Regions from separate parts of the Homo sapiens genome. Here region 1 is linked to region 2. The links are contacts of gene promoters, found by promoter capture Hi-C in blood cells and fetal thymus (Javierre and others, 2016). All regions are on one chromosome and are shown on one strand. Each heading gives the region's core, a stretch centred on a gene start or on the middle of the fragment in contact. The rest is flanking DNA. Distances are from core to core; before and after follow the strand shown.

Evidence for each region. Contacts are between HindIII fragments. The CHiCAGO score rates a contact against its expected background, and 5 or more counts as called.
Region 1: a contact is called between a fragment that was not itself captured here and the fragment with the promoter of ZNF669 in region 2, in 2 of 17 cell types (M2 macrophages and M0 macrophages). The highest score is 7.0, in M2 macrophages.

The regions. Positions count from the first base shown.
Region 1 is chr1:247,362,357-247,369,105 of GRCh38, forward strand. The region is part of intron 1 of ZNF496-DT (ZNF496 divergent transcript); the gene reads left to right. Among named protein-coding and RNA genes, the nearest start is that of ZNF496-DT, 34 kb to the left of the region's middle. RefSeq lists an enhancer at 278-822. The HindIII fragment of the contact is 5,240 bases long and covers 1-4,041 here.
Region 2 is chr1:247,100,722-247,107,534 of GRCh38, forward strand. ZNF669 (zinc finger protein 669) reads right to left here and starts at 3,635. Exons shown (of 4, transcript NM_001142572.2): 1 at 3,476-3,635; 2 at 1,266-1,392; 3 at 1,010-1,070; 4 at 1-598. The coding sequence starts at 3,478. FLJ39095 (a long non-coding RNA gene) reads left to right here and starts at 3,790. Exons shown (of 3, transcript NR_147502.1): 1 at 3,790-4,919; 2 at 5,272-5,430. RefSeq lists an enhancer at 3,586-3,880. The HindIII fragment of the contact is 5,762 bases long and covers 274-6,035 here.

The sequences.
Region 1 (6,749 bases), core at 172-2,671, 260 kb after region 2:
AACTCCTAGGCTCAAGCAAGCCTTCCTTGACCTCCCGAAGTGTTGGGATTACAGGCATAAATCAGTGAATCCAGCTACACAAAGGATTTATAACTTAGTTGTAAATCTGATTTCTGCCTTAAAAAAAGAAATCCTGCTAAGGGAGTTTCTAAGGCTATATATTCCTTTTGTGTCTTTTCATAGGTACCAATAAGAAAGCTGTTTAAGACAAGAGCTCTTAGTGGCCGGGCGCGGTGGCTCACATCTGTAATCCCAGCACTTTGGGAGGCTGAGGCAGATGGATCACCTGAGGTCAGCAGTTCGAGGCCAGCTAGCCAAGATGGTGAAACCCTGTCTCCACTAAAAATACAAAAAAAAAAAAAAAAAAATTACCTGGGCATAGTGGTGCGCACCTGTAATCTCAGCCACTGGGGAGGCTGAGGCAGGAGAATTGCTTGAACCCGGGAGGCTGAAGTTGCAGTGAGCAGAGATTGCGCCACTGCAGTCCAGCCTGGGCGACAGAGTGAGACCTTGTCTCAAAAAAAAAAAAAAAAGAGACAAGAGCTCTCTAAAAAGTTTTCTTTTAAAATATAACTTTTTAACTTATTTATTATGTTTTTTCAAAATTTCAACTTTTATTTTAGATTCAGGGGATACATGTGTGGATTTGTTACATGGGTATATTGCATGATGCTGAGGTTTGGGGTGCAAAGCATCCTTTCACCCAGGTAGTGAGGATAGTACCCGATAGGTACTTTTTCAACTCTTGTCCCCCTCTCCCTCCACCTCTCCCCTTCTCCTCTCCCCCTCTCTCTCTCTCCCCTTCTCCTCTCCCCCTCTCTCACTCTCCCCTTCTCCTCTCCCCTCTCTCACTCTCCCCTTCTCCTCTCCCCTCTCTCACTCTCCCCTTCTCCTCTCCCCCTCTCTCTCTCTCCCCTTCTCCTCTCCCCCTCTCTCACTCTCCCCTTCTCCTCTCCCCTCTCTCACTCTCCTACTTTCCTACTCTCCCTGCTCTAGCAGGTCCCAGTGACTATTGTTTCCATCTTTATGTCCATGTGTATCCAACGTTTAGCTTCCGCTTATAAGTGAGAATGTGGCCGGGTGCGGTGGCTCACGCCTGTAATCCCAGCACTTTGGGAGGCAAAGGCAGGCGGATCACCTGAGATTGGGAGTTCAAGACCAGCCTGACCAACATGGAGAAACCTTGTCTCTACTAAAAATACAAAACTAGCCAGGCGTAGTGGCGCATGCCTGTAGTCCCAGCTAGTTGGGAGGCTGAGGCAGGAGAATCACTTGAACCTGGGAGGCCGAGGTTGCAGTGAGCCGAGATCACACCATTGTACTCCAGCCTGGGTAACAAGAGTGAAACTCCGTCTCAAAAAAAAGAAAAAAAATGTGAGAACATGCAGTATTTGATTTTCTGTTTCTGCGTTAGTTCACTTAAGATAATGGCCTCCAGCTGCATCCACATTGCTGCAAAGAACACAGTTTTGTTGCTTTTTATGGCTGTGTCGTATTCCGTAGTGTATACGTACCACATTTTATCCAATCCACTGTTGATGGGCACCTAGGTTGATTCCAGCCAATTTATTTATTCCATAAGTGACTCAAACCAATAATCATTTTTTTATGGAAAGTTCTGGAGGTAGCTTTCCAGGTTTAGAAGAGCATAGGTGTTTGTGGTGTATTTAAAATGAATGGGCCGGGTGCGGTGGCTCACGCCTGTAATCCCAGCAATTTGGGAGGCCGAAGCAGGCGGATCACAAGGTCAGGAGATCGAGACCATATTGGCTAACATGGTGAAACCCCATCTCTACTAAAAGTACAAAAAATCAGCTGGGCATGGTGGCAGGCGCCTGTAGTCCCAGCTACTCGGGAGGCTGAGGCAGGAGAATGGCGTGAACCCAGGAGGCGGAGTTTACAGTGAGCCGAGATCATGCCACTGCACTCCAGCCTGGGAGACAGAGCGAGACTCTATCTCAAAAAATAAAATAAAATAAATAAAATAAAATGAGTGCAGAAGATGCACCCCCTCCTATGATCCTTCCCAAAAAACACATTCTCAGAAATAGGCTAAGATAGCCGGGCCTGGTGGCTCACACCTGTATCCTAGCACTTTGGGAGGCTGAGGCAGGTAGGTCACCTGAGGTCAGGAGTTCAAGACCAGCCTGGCCAACATGGTGAAACCCCATCTCTACTGAAAATAACAAAAAATTAGCCAGATGTGGTGGCGCATGCCTGTAATCCCAGCTACTTAGGAGATTGAGGCAGGAGAATCACTTGAACCTGGGAGGCAGAGGTTGCAGTGAGCCGAGATCATGCCACTGCACTCCAGCCTGGTGACAGAGCGAGACTCTGTCTCAAAAAAGAAATAGGCTAAGCTAGCAAGAGGCTTGCTGCCATAGACAGCTAAGGATGGTGTTTACTCATGGGGTGCCTTAAGTATCCCACAAATTTGTGAGAGGCTGCCAGCCACAGACCTGTTAATCTGTGATAACTCCTGTGATTGGACTTTCCCAGGACTAACAGGGACAAACAAGCATTGCCATGACAAAAGTCCCTTATGTATGGGACTTAATACAAATGACCTTGAGTGCTCGGCACATTCAGAGCAGAGTGTGCTGCTTAGTATCTTACTTGTCAGGGGGTTCCCAGTCTTTTTAGACTGGTGATGTGGTTTGGCTGTGCCCCCACCCAAATCTCCACTTGAATTGTATCCCCCAGATTTCCCACGTATTGTGGGAGGGACCCAGGGGGAGGTAATTGAATCATAGGGGGCTGGTCTTTCCCATGCTATTCTCATGATAGTGAATAAGTCTCATGGGATCTGATGGGTTTATCAGGGGTTTCTGCTTCTGTTTCTTCCTCATTTTCTCTTGCCGCCGCCATGGAAGACATGCCTTTCGCCCTCCGCCATGATTCTGAGGCCTCCCCAACCATGCGGAACTGTAAGTCCTATTAAATCTCTTTTTCTTCTCAGTCTCGGGTATGTCTTTGTAAGCAGCATGAAAACAGACTAATATAGTAAATTGGTACCAGTAGAGGGGGGCATTGCTGAAAAGATGCCTGAAAATGTGGAAGCAACTTTGGAACTGGGTAACAGGCAGAGGTTGGAGGGCTCAGAAGAAGCAGGAAAATGTGGGAAAGTTTGGAACTACCTAGAGACTTGTTGAATGGCTTTGACGAAAGTACTGATAGTGATATGAACAATAAGGTCTAGGCTGATGTGGTCTCAGATGGAGATGAGGAACTTGTTGGGAACTGGCTGTTGCCCAGACTGGAGTGCAGTGGTGCCATCTCGGCTCACTGCAACCTCCGCCTCCTAAGTTCAAGCAATTCTCCTGCCTCTGCCTCCCGAGTACCTGGGATTACAGGTGTGCGCCACCATTCCCCGCTAATTTTTCTATTTTTAGTAGAGACTGTGTTTTGCCATGTTAGCCAGGCTGTTTTCAAACTCCTGACCTCAGGTGATCCACCCACGTTGGCCTCCCAAAGTGCAGGGATTACAGGCGTGAGCCACCGAGTCTGGCTGACTCTTGTTATGTTTTAGCAAAGAGAATGAAGGCACTTTGCCCCTGCCCTAGAGATTTGTGGAACTTTGAACTTGAGAGAGATGGTTTAGGGTATCTGATGGAAAAAATTTCTAAGCAGCAAAGCATTCCAGAGGTGACTTGGGTGCTGCTAAAAGCCTTCAGTTTTAAAAGGGAAACAGAGCATGAAAGTTTGGAAAATTCGTGGCCTGACAATGTAAGAGAAAAGAAAAACCCATTTTCTGGGGAGAAATTCAAGCTGGCTACAGAAATTTGCAAGTAAGTAGCAAGGAGCCTAATGTTAATCCCCAAGACCATGGGGAAAATGTCTCCAGGCCATGTCAGAGACCTTTATGGCAGCCCCTCCCATCACAGGCCTGGAGGCCCAGAGGAAAAAGTGGTTTTGTGGGCTAGGCCCAGTGTCTCCAGGCTGTGTGCAGCCTGGGGACTTGGTGCCCTGTGTCCCAGCTGAAAGAGACCAATGTACAGCTCAGGCTGTGGCTTCAGAGGGTAGAAGAGGGTGGAAGCCCCAAGCTTTGGCAGCTTCCATGTGGTGTTGAGCCTGTGGGTGCACAGAAGTCAAGAATTGAGGTTTGAGAACCTCTGCCTAGATTTCAAAGGGCATATGGAAATGCCTGGATGCCCAGGCAGAAGTTTGCTGCAGGGGTGGGGCCCCGATGGAGAACCTATGCTAGGGCAATGCAGAAGGGAAATGTGGGGTGGGAGCCCCCACACAGAGTCCCTACTGGGGCACCACCTAGTGAAGCTGTGAGAAAAGGGCTACCATCCTCCAGACCTCAGAATGCTAGATCCACCAACACCTTCCACCATGCACCTGGAAAAGCTGCAGACACTCAACACCATCCTATGAAAGCAGCCGGGAGGGAGGCTGTATCCTGCAAAGCCACAGAGGCAGAGCTGCCCAAGACCATGGGAACCCACCACTTGCAGTAGTGTGACCTGGATGTGAGACCTGGAGTCAAAGGAGATCATTTTGGGAGCTTTAAAATTTGACTGCCTTGCTGGATTTCAGACTTGAATGGGCCCTGTAACCCCTTTGTTTTGGCCAATTTCCCCCATTTGGAACGGCTGTATTCACCCAATACCAGTACCCCCATTGTATCTAGGAAGTAACCAGTTGACTTTTGATTTTACAGGCTCATAGGTGGAAGGGACTTTCCTTTTCTCAGATGAGGCTTTGGACTATGGACTTTTGGGTTAATGCTGAAATGAGTTAAGACTTTGGGGGACTGTTGGGAAGGCATGATTGGTTTTGAAATGTGAGGACATGAGATTTGGAGCCACCAGGGGTGGAATGATATGGTTTTGCCATGCCTCTACCCAAATCTTAACTTGAATTGTACCTCTCAGATTTCCCACATGTTGTGGGAGGGACCCAAGGGGAAGTAATTGAATCACGGGGGCTGGTCTTTTCAATGCTATTCTCGTGATAGTGAATAAGTCTCACAAGATCTGATGGATTTATCAGGGGTTTCTACTTTTGCTTCTTCCTCATTTTCTCTTGCTGCTGCCATGTAAGAAGTGGCTTTTGCCCTTTGCCATGATTCTGAGGCTTCCCCAGCCCATGTGGAACTGTAAGTCCAATTAAACCTCTTTTTCTTCCCAGTCTTGGGTATGTCTTTGTAAGCAGAGTGAAAATGGACTAATACAACTGACCAACACACATGACCCAAAAGTCCCAAAAGTCATGCCACTCCCCCAACCACTCCCCGGGTTGGTAGAGACCAAGCAAGAGTGCTCCCCACTTGGTCACAAGTCAGGCTCTTGAGAGCCTGACATAAAAGATATTAAGCAAGATGAGAGGGAATCTTTATGACAGCAAGACAGAGACACAGGAAAAAAAAGAATGTTTCTGAAAGGAAAAAGATCAGACAACATGAAATAGTCATACCAAAAATAAACCAGCGTTTGTGTGTCTAAAATTAGCCTGTATAAATGCTTTTCTTGGCTGGGTGCAGTGGCTCACCCTGTAATTCCAGTACTTTGGGAGGCCAAGGCAGGAGGATTCCTTGAGTCCAGATGTCAGATATATTTGAACAAGAGGGACTCCATCTTGAAGATGGGCTGGGTAAAAAAAAGCTGAGAACTGCTGGGCTCCCAGGAGCTTAGGCATTCTTAGTCACAGGATGAGTTAGGAGGTCAGCACAAGATACAGGTCACAACAACCCCACTGATAAAGCAGGATGTGGTAAAGAAGCCGGCCAAAACCCACCAGAACCAGGATGCTGATGAAAGTGACCTCTGGTAATCCTCACTGCTCATTATGTGATACTTATTATAAGGCATTAGCGTGTTAAAAGACACTCCCACCAGCACCACCACAGTTTACAAATACCATGGCAACATCCAGAAGTTACCCTATATGGTCTGAAAGTGGGGAGGAACCCTCAGTTCCTGGAAATCCAGTCCTCTTTCCCGGAAAACTCATGAATAATTCACCCCTTGTTTAGCATACAATCAAGAAATAACTGTAGGTATACTCGGTTGAGCAGCTCACACCACGGCTGTACCTATGCAGTAGCCATTCTTTTGTTTCTTTTACTTCCCTAATAAACTTGCTTTTACTTTACTCTATGGACTCGCCCTGTATTCTTTCTTGTGGGAGGTCCAGTAACCCTCTCTTGGGGTCTAGATTGGGACCCCTTTCCAGTAACACAGGAGTTTGAGGCCAGCCTCAACAACTGAGACTCCATCTCTACAAAAAAATCAAAAAGTTAGCAGGGAATGGTGGAGTGCACCTATGGTCCCAGCTACACAGGAAGCTGAGGCAGGAGGATCCCTCGAGTCCAGGAGGTTAAGTCTGCAGTGAGCCATGACTGTCCCGCTGCACTCCAGCCTGGGCAACAGAGCTGATTCTAAATAAATAAATAAATTCTTTCTTTCCATTTATCTTAAATTTGGAAAAGGAAAAGGAAACAGTTTTACTGTCTGCTTGATTGGATTGCACAGACAGATGCTGTTTGAAATGTTTCTTCCTTGGTGCGGTAAAGAAATAGCACTTGAACATGAATTTAATTTATTTAGTAAGGCCATTTTTACTTCTTGCAGAAAGGGTACACTCATCAGCAGTTTTGCCATGAGAGTGCATTGAACAAAGGAGACAGGGTCATTTATAACCTGACGCGTCCTCCCTACTGCTGTGTCTGGTTTCCACTGGCTGGAGCGGGACCTCACATTCTGTATTTGTCTCGATTGGCTAGCAACTTAGAACTTTTTAAA
Region 2 (6,813 bases), core at 2,385-4,884:
AAGGGAAGTGGAACAGCTGAAGGCTTTATCACATTTGGTACATTTATAGGGTCTTTCTCCAGTGTGAGTCCTTTCATGCGTCTTAAAAGAACAAGAAAATCTGAATGTTTTCCCACATTCCTTACATTCGTAGGGTTTCTCTCCAGTGTGAGTTCGTTCATGTATTAGACAAGAACCGGAAACAGTGAATGCTTTACCACATTGTTTACATTTATAGGGTTTTTCTCCTGTGTGAGTTCTCTGATGTCTTTCAACTGAATTGAGAAAATAAAAAGCTTTCCCACATATCGTACATTTATAAGCTGGATTTCCACTGTGCATTATCATGTGTCTTCTAACACCTGGAACAGAAACGAAGAATTTCCCACACTGTTCACATTTATATTGCTTCTCTCCATATGGTTTGTATCCTGAGTGAGCTAGGATATGCCTATTAAGGAGGGAATGACGTACAAAGACTTTTCCACAAATACTGCATTCACATGGTTTTAATCCAGTAGAAATGTTCTCGTTCAGATCAAGATTTGGAATTTGGCTGACAACTTCTCCATACTGACCATCTTCTTTACTTTCACACAGTCTCTGTACGATATGATTTCTGTAAAAAAATGACAAGCACATTATTATTGGTTGGTTTATTAATAACTTTCTACTTATTAATAGGTCTTGGACTTACACTGCTACCAATATCAGGGAAAATGCATTTTTTTTTTTGCCATGACTGAATTATTTCAAAGTAAATGGGTTACTACTGAAAACACAGCTACCACCTGCATGGCTATGACCAAAATAGTAATATTCATATACACAGTTTTGTAGTACTATTTTCAAGTAAACTCTTTTGCAAACACTGACTGCTACATTGAAGTACGTTACATTTTGGGTGAAATTTTTCTAAAAATAAATAAATTTCAAGTGACTCTTATTTGTTTTGATTGCTTGTTTTTAAGTTCATGACATGCTAAGATTCCTTCAGAGGACTTTATTTCCTCTGCTCAGTGCAAATTACCTTATATCTTTCCCAGGTTTTTCGAAGTGATCTTCAATATTCTGGTCTTTCCATTGGCTTCCTAAAATGCAGACCCATAAAATTATCATGAATTATTACAAACTGTAGACACATTACTAGATTTAATGTTCACTGTACACAGTGCCCATGCCTGATTTATTCACCAAATCATTCCCTTGCCACATTCCAAATCATAAATAGCACTGATGATAGGGAAAGACTTCTGTAATTAACTGAAATGTGTTGTCATTCTTACCTACAGAAGCCAGGTTCCTGCAGGTTTCCTGCATCACTTCTCTGTAGAGATTCTTCTGAGAAGAATCTAGCAAAGCCCATTCCTCCTGGGTAAAGTTCACAGCCACATCCTCAAAAGCCACCGAGTCCTAGAACATTCCACACATGTGGATAGAAGGATGGGTGAGACTGACAGCACTGGGAATCTATACTCAATTCATAAGCTGTTTACATGATTTGATAATTTCCAAGCATTTATTCTATGACTTGATTGTCACAACTCTTACTCTGTTCACACATACTCCCTCCCACACAGCAGTACTAATGCTAGAATTGAACTATTCAAAAAGGCAACAGCAAAGTGGAAATACCCATCTCATTAGAGAATCCAGGGAGTAAGATGTGCTGCTAGGTTACCTCTTAATTTCACTTCGTACATTTCTAGTATCTGCCATAATAAAGTCCTACCTGATGTGCATAAGTGAGTTAATAATATCAGTCCTAAGACTACTTATTCTTAAAAATGCCTGCTCACAAAGTTCAATCTTTGTTTGTATTAGTAACTTACATTTTGAAAGGGATTCCACCAACCTAAGTAATAAGAATGACTCACTGCATCTAAATGGTTTATGCAATATAGTTGCCAAAACTTTTTCTGCTAAAGGTCTATTATTTTGTGTCACTGCAGTGGTGCTTAGGGAACCAGACACCAAAACACAGTCTGAACACTAAGTGTTTAATGAGTTTCCCTGGTAGACAATATTTTATATGTGCTGTCACTTGTTAATTGGGGAGTTGAGCCCATTCCATGTGATTACACCAAGAGAGAATAGGCTTATTAAATTTAATTGAGTAGTAAATAAAACCAATAATTGATATTTAACAATTTACTAATACAATTTTTAAATTTCTATTGCACAATGTCAAGGCAGAATGGAATAAGAGGAAATATGGCACATGTTTTTTAAAATGACATTAATGTCACCACTTCCAGATGCTATTCCTGTGAAATCACATAAATTCCCAAATCAGGCTTTTTTAGGCAAGAAAAACTAGTTTTTCATACCTAGTAAAAATGACAAATGTCTAATGATTTTCAGTCATCTAAAAAAAGAGTTATGTCTTGCCTAACATACTTTTAAGATTTTCAACCAAAAATATTCAGGACAGCACAGTATTAGCAGAGAGATGAGCAAGCAGACCAAGGGCTGAGGACACAACACCCTGTAAAGTTTTCACAGGGGGACATCAACCTAAAGACATTTTGGTAATATGCACACTTAGGAAAGATGAAGAGAGGCACAAAGATTTTTTTACAGTAGAGTGTCAGATGGTTTATTCTCCGCTTTCCTCTCATGTAAAATGTTTGTAAACAGAAAAATATTTTGGCCGAGCGCGGTGGCTCACGCCTGTAATCTCAGCGCTTTAGGAGGCCGAGACGGGCGGATCACTTAAGGTCAGGAGTTCGAGACCAACCTAGCCAACATGGCGAAACCCTGTCTCTACCAAAAATACAAAAATTAGCTGGGCGTGGTGGCGGGCGCCTGTAATCCCAACTACTCGGGAGGCTGAGGCAGGAGAATCGCTTGAACCCGGGAGTCAGAGGTTGCAATGAGTGAGACTGCATCATTGCACTCCAGCCTGGCGACAGGGCGAGATTCCGTCTCCAAAAAAAAAAAAAAAAAAAAAAAAAAAGAATATGGTTTGCTTCCTCATTAACCTTATCAAAGCCTCTCATTTACGCCCCTTCTGTGGACCCCAAACCACAAACCATGACTGCGGTACCTGGTTTATGAATCGCCGTTTGCTCAAACACACGGTTTAACGTTTTAACAAAGCCTCGGCTTAATTTTAGGGGAAGAAAGGTGGGACTGGAAGCCCCATGAACCACAGCTCCTCCCATGCTGGAACCCCGCACACCGAGACACCGAGTCGGGGCTCTCCCGCATCACCCTCCCGTGGTCACCACACTACCTGGATAGGGGAGGCGAGGGGTTCCCGACAGGGCTCCGGCCGGCGGAAGTGGCGCCCGCAGGTACAGACAGGATGCAGGGGTTCCGCTGCCCGCCCCGCCCGGCCCGGCCCTGAACAGAAGAGGACTGAGCCCCGGCTACGCCACGGCGACTCGGTCCGCAGGTTCCGGAGCCGATGGCGTGGAGGCCCGAGTCGCGCCACAGCAGGTTTCAACCAGCCCTCTTCTCCACTTCGGGAAGCCAGGCGCAGTCCACTCACCATTCCTCGGCTTCCCGGGTGTCCTGGCGTCAGCTAGGGATGTCCCAATACTCGCAGGTCACAGGGTGGCAGAGGCTGCTGCAGAGCCACCTGGGCCTCCCAGAGCCAAGAACTAGCAGCGGAGACTAACAGGAAGAGCCGGCTCCGGCGAAGGAGAGACAAAGCAACCGCCAGGCAGATCCCGGAAGCCGCCCTCTCCTTTCCGGCGGCGCGCCTGATTGAACGGTCCCCACCCCAGCGCCCCTGATTGGATGGGGCTTCAGGCCCCGCCCCTCAGGCCCTGAGTGACAGGAGATTGCGATCTCACGTGAGGCTGGATGAGGTCAGAATGACCGCTTTTGGCCTAGCGGTTTGTAGGCGGTGCGTCCTTCCTGCGCTGGGATCCGACCATGCAAGAAGGACATTCACATTTAACCTGTATACAAGTTATAGCTATTTGTGCCTTTTATATATATATATATATATAAAATTGGAAGCAATATAATGACAGTTCTGTAACTGCCCAGGGAGTTCACCTTGCCCGCTACCTAGACAGAGCCGATTTCTCAAGACAGGGGAATAGCAATAGAGAAAGAGTAATTCACGCAGTGTCCTCTGTGCGGGAGACCGGAGTTTTTTTATTTTATTTTATTTTTTTGAAACAGAATCTTGCTCTGTCTCCCAGGCTGGAGTGCAGGCTTGGAGTTTTATGATTATTCAAATCAGTCTCCCTGAGCATTTGGGGTAAGAGTATTTAGAACGTTTATTTTGCCAAGGTTGGGGATGCATATGCATGACACAGCCTCAGGATGTCCTTGATGACATGTGCCCAAGGTGGTCAGAGCACAGCTTGGTTTTGTTGGAGAGAAATGCTCGGTGCCGCAAAGTGAAACCAGCACTCAAGCGAAAGTTTTCTCAGCAACGCAATTTACTTCTGCAGAAGCGTGCTGCTCGCATCAATCACGATCGCAAGAGCACACTGAACAGAGGAAAGCAGGGGTTTTTATTCCTAACGCAGTCCCTACCTCTGGCATGGGCTGGGGTCAGACCGCACGATCTAAACTGACCCGGTTGGCTATTTGTGAATATTTTCCCAAATAAGGAAGGGGGAAGGGGGATGTGAGTTACAATGGTGGGACTTGCGGTTTCCAAGGGAGAAATGGGTGCAGAGCAGGTAACCAAGGGAACAGATGTGAGTTATTGATTAGAACTGACGGAAGGTTGTTTACAGTAACTAAGGGCAAGGAGGCATGGAGAACAAGAAAGTTGAGTTCGAAAACAAAAAAACAAGAAAGTTAACATGCCAAACCTTGGAAGAGAAACTGACTGTATCTGACAGCTTTATACATTTTAGGGAAACAGGAGACATCAATCAACATATGTAAGATGAACACTGGTTTGATCCGGGACAACCTGAAGCAAAAGCGGGTCAACTCGAAGCCAGGAGGGGGCTTCCAGGTCACAGGTAGGTGAGAGACAAACGGTTGCATTCTTTTGAGTTTCTGATTAGCCTTTCCAAAGGAGGCAATAAGATATGCATTCATCTCAGTGAGCAGGGGATGACTCTGAATAGAATGGGAGGCAGGTTTGCCCTAAGCAGTTCCCAGATTGACTTTCCCCTTTAGCTTAGTGATCTGGGGGGCTCAAAACATTTTCCTTTCCAATTTCCCCCTTTTCTTTTAAAAATATTTTGGAGAAAGCATTTTAGAAGAAAATCAGTCTCTGGTCCCAGGTTTTGTCCAATCTCTCATGGAGTAGCTGGGATTACAGGCACTGGACACCACGCCTGCCTAATTTTTTTTTTTTTTTTTTCGTAGAAATGGGGTCTCCCTCAGTTGCCCAGGCTGGTCTCTGGTGCCCAACGCCGGGCTCCCGGTAATCTCTACAAATAATCCAGTGAAGGAATGCCAGAGAGTGGAAAGTGGAGGATGACTGACAAAGGACGCCCGAGTACGTTTTCACTTCAAGCTCTACAGGTAAGTAGGGCGCTCGGAAAATTCCAGGGTAACCTCCGGAAACTATGGGTCAGGCTGAGAGTAAGTTTGCTAATTACTGAAGCCTTGTCCGGCAGTTACTGCGCCGCGGAGGGGTAATTGTGAGTACCCAAAATCTCCCATCTTTGTTCTATCTGGTAAAAAAGTATTCTCTTTGGTTCCCGGAATATGGAACCATGAATGTAAAAGACTGGGACAAGGTCGGATCAGACTTAAAACGAGCACAACAAGAGGGCCACGATATTCCCTTCTTGCTTGGTCTGCGTGGCCTGCAATTAAAACAGCACTGGAGCCCTTCCACACTGAGGAGGAGCTTCAGGATGACATAGAAAACTTTAATAATCAGGAGTCTAATGATCAGCAAAATCAACCATCACAGTCTAGTTTTAAAAAGGCCGAGAAACGGGAAGGTATATATGCTAATCTCCAAAAACTTATAAAAGAAACAGTGCCACCTACTTCGCCTTTAGGGGAAGGTCTGGAATGGCCACCCCCGGCTCAGCCTTACAAATTTTTGGAACTGGAGCCTGAGACGCGGCTTGCCGCTCCCATTGTTGCAGGCCCCACCAATAACTATGGCGAAGGGAAGCTTCAGGCTCGCCTAACAGCCAATTACGATCAGGGAATGATCCTCTACCACCTGTTAATTGTGGTAGAGGAATGCTGCGAGCCGGTCCAAATACAAATTATGGCACGGGGACAATCCCGTCATCCATTCGCCAGGCATGAGAAATGGGGGATTTGGATGCTTTGCAGTTTCTGGTAATTAATTCGCCAGTTGAGGAGCCCAGAGAACATGCTCAAGCATGCTGGCAGCCACTTCCTTTTAAAATATTAAAATACTTAAAGCAAGCAATTGGACAATATGGGCCAAATTCTCCTTATGTTCATTCCTTGTTACAATCTGTGGCTTATAACAGGCGTTTAATACCTATGGATTGGGAGGCACTAGCCCAATCCACTCCGTCCCCCTCTGAATTTCTCCAATTTAAAACCTGGTGGACAGATGAAGCAACAAATCGGGCATGCAGAAATGCTCAAGTCCAACGTCCCGTTAATATCACATCTGATCAATTGCTTGGAATCACATGGGGTACTCTAAATCAACAGAATGGTAATGGGTGATGAGGTTGTTGATCAGGTCAGAACTATATGCCTAAGAGCCTGGGAAAAAATTCACAACCCTGGTACAACTTATCCGTGTTTTAACTCAGTTCGACAGGGTCCAAGGGAGCCTTATCCAGATTTTATTGCCCGTTTGTAAGATGCGGCTCAAAAGGCTATTTCAGATTTTCATGCCAGGAAAGTGATCGTTCAGCTGCTTGCTGATGAAAATGCTAATACAGAATGTCAGGCAGCAATTAG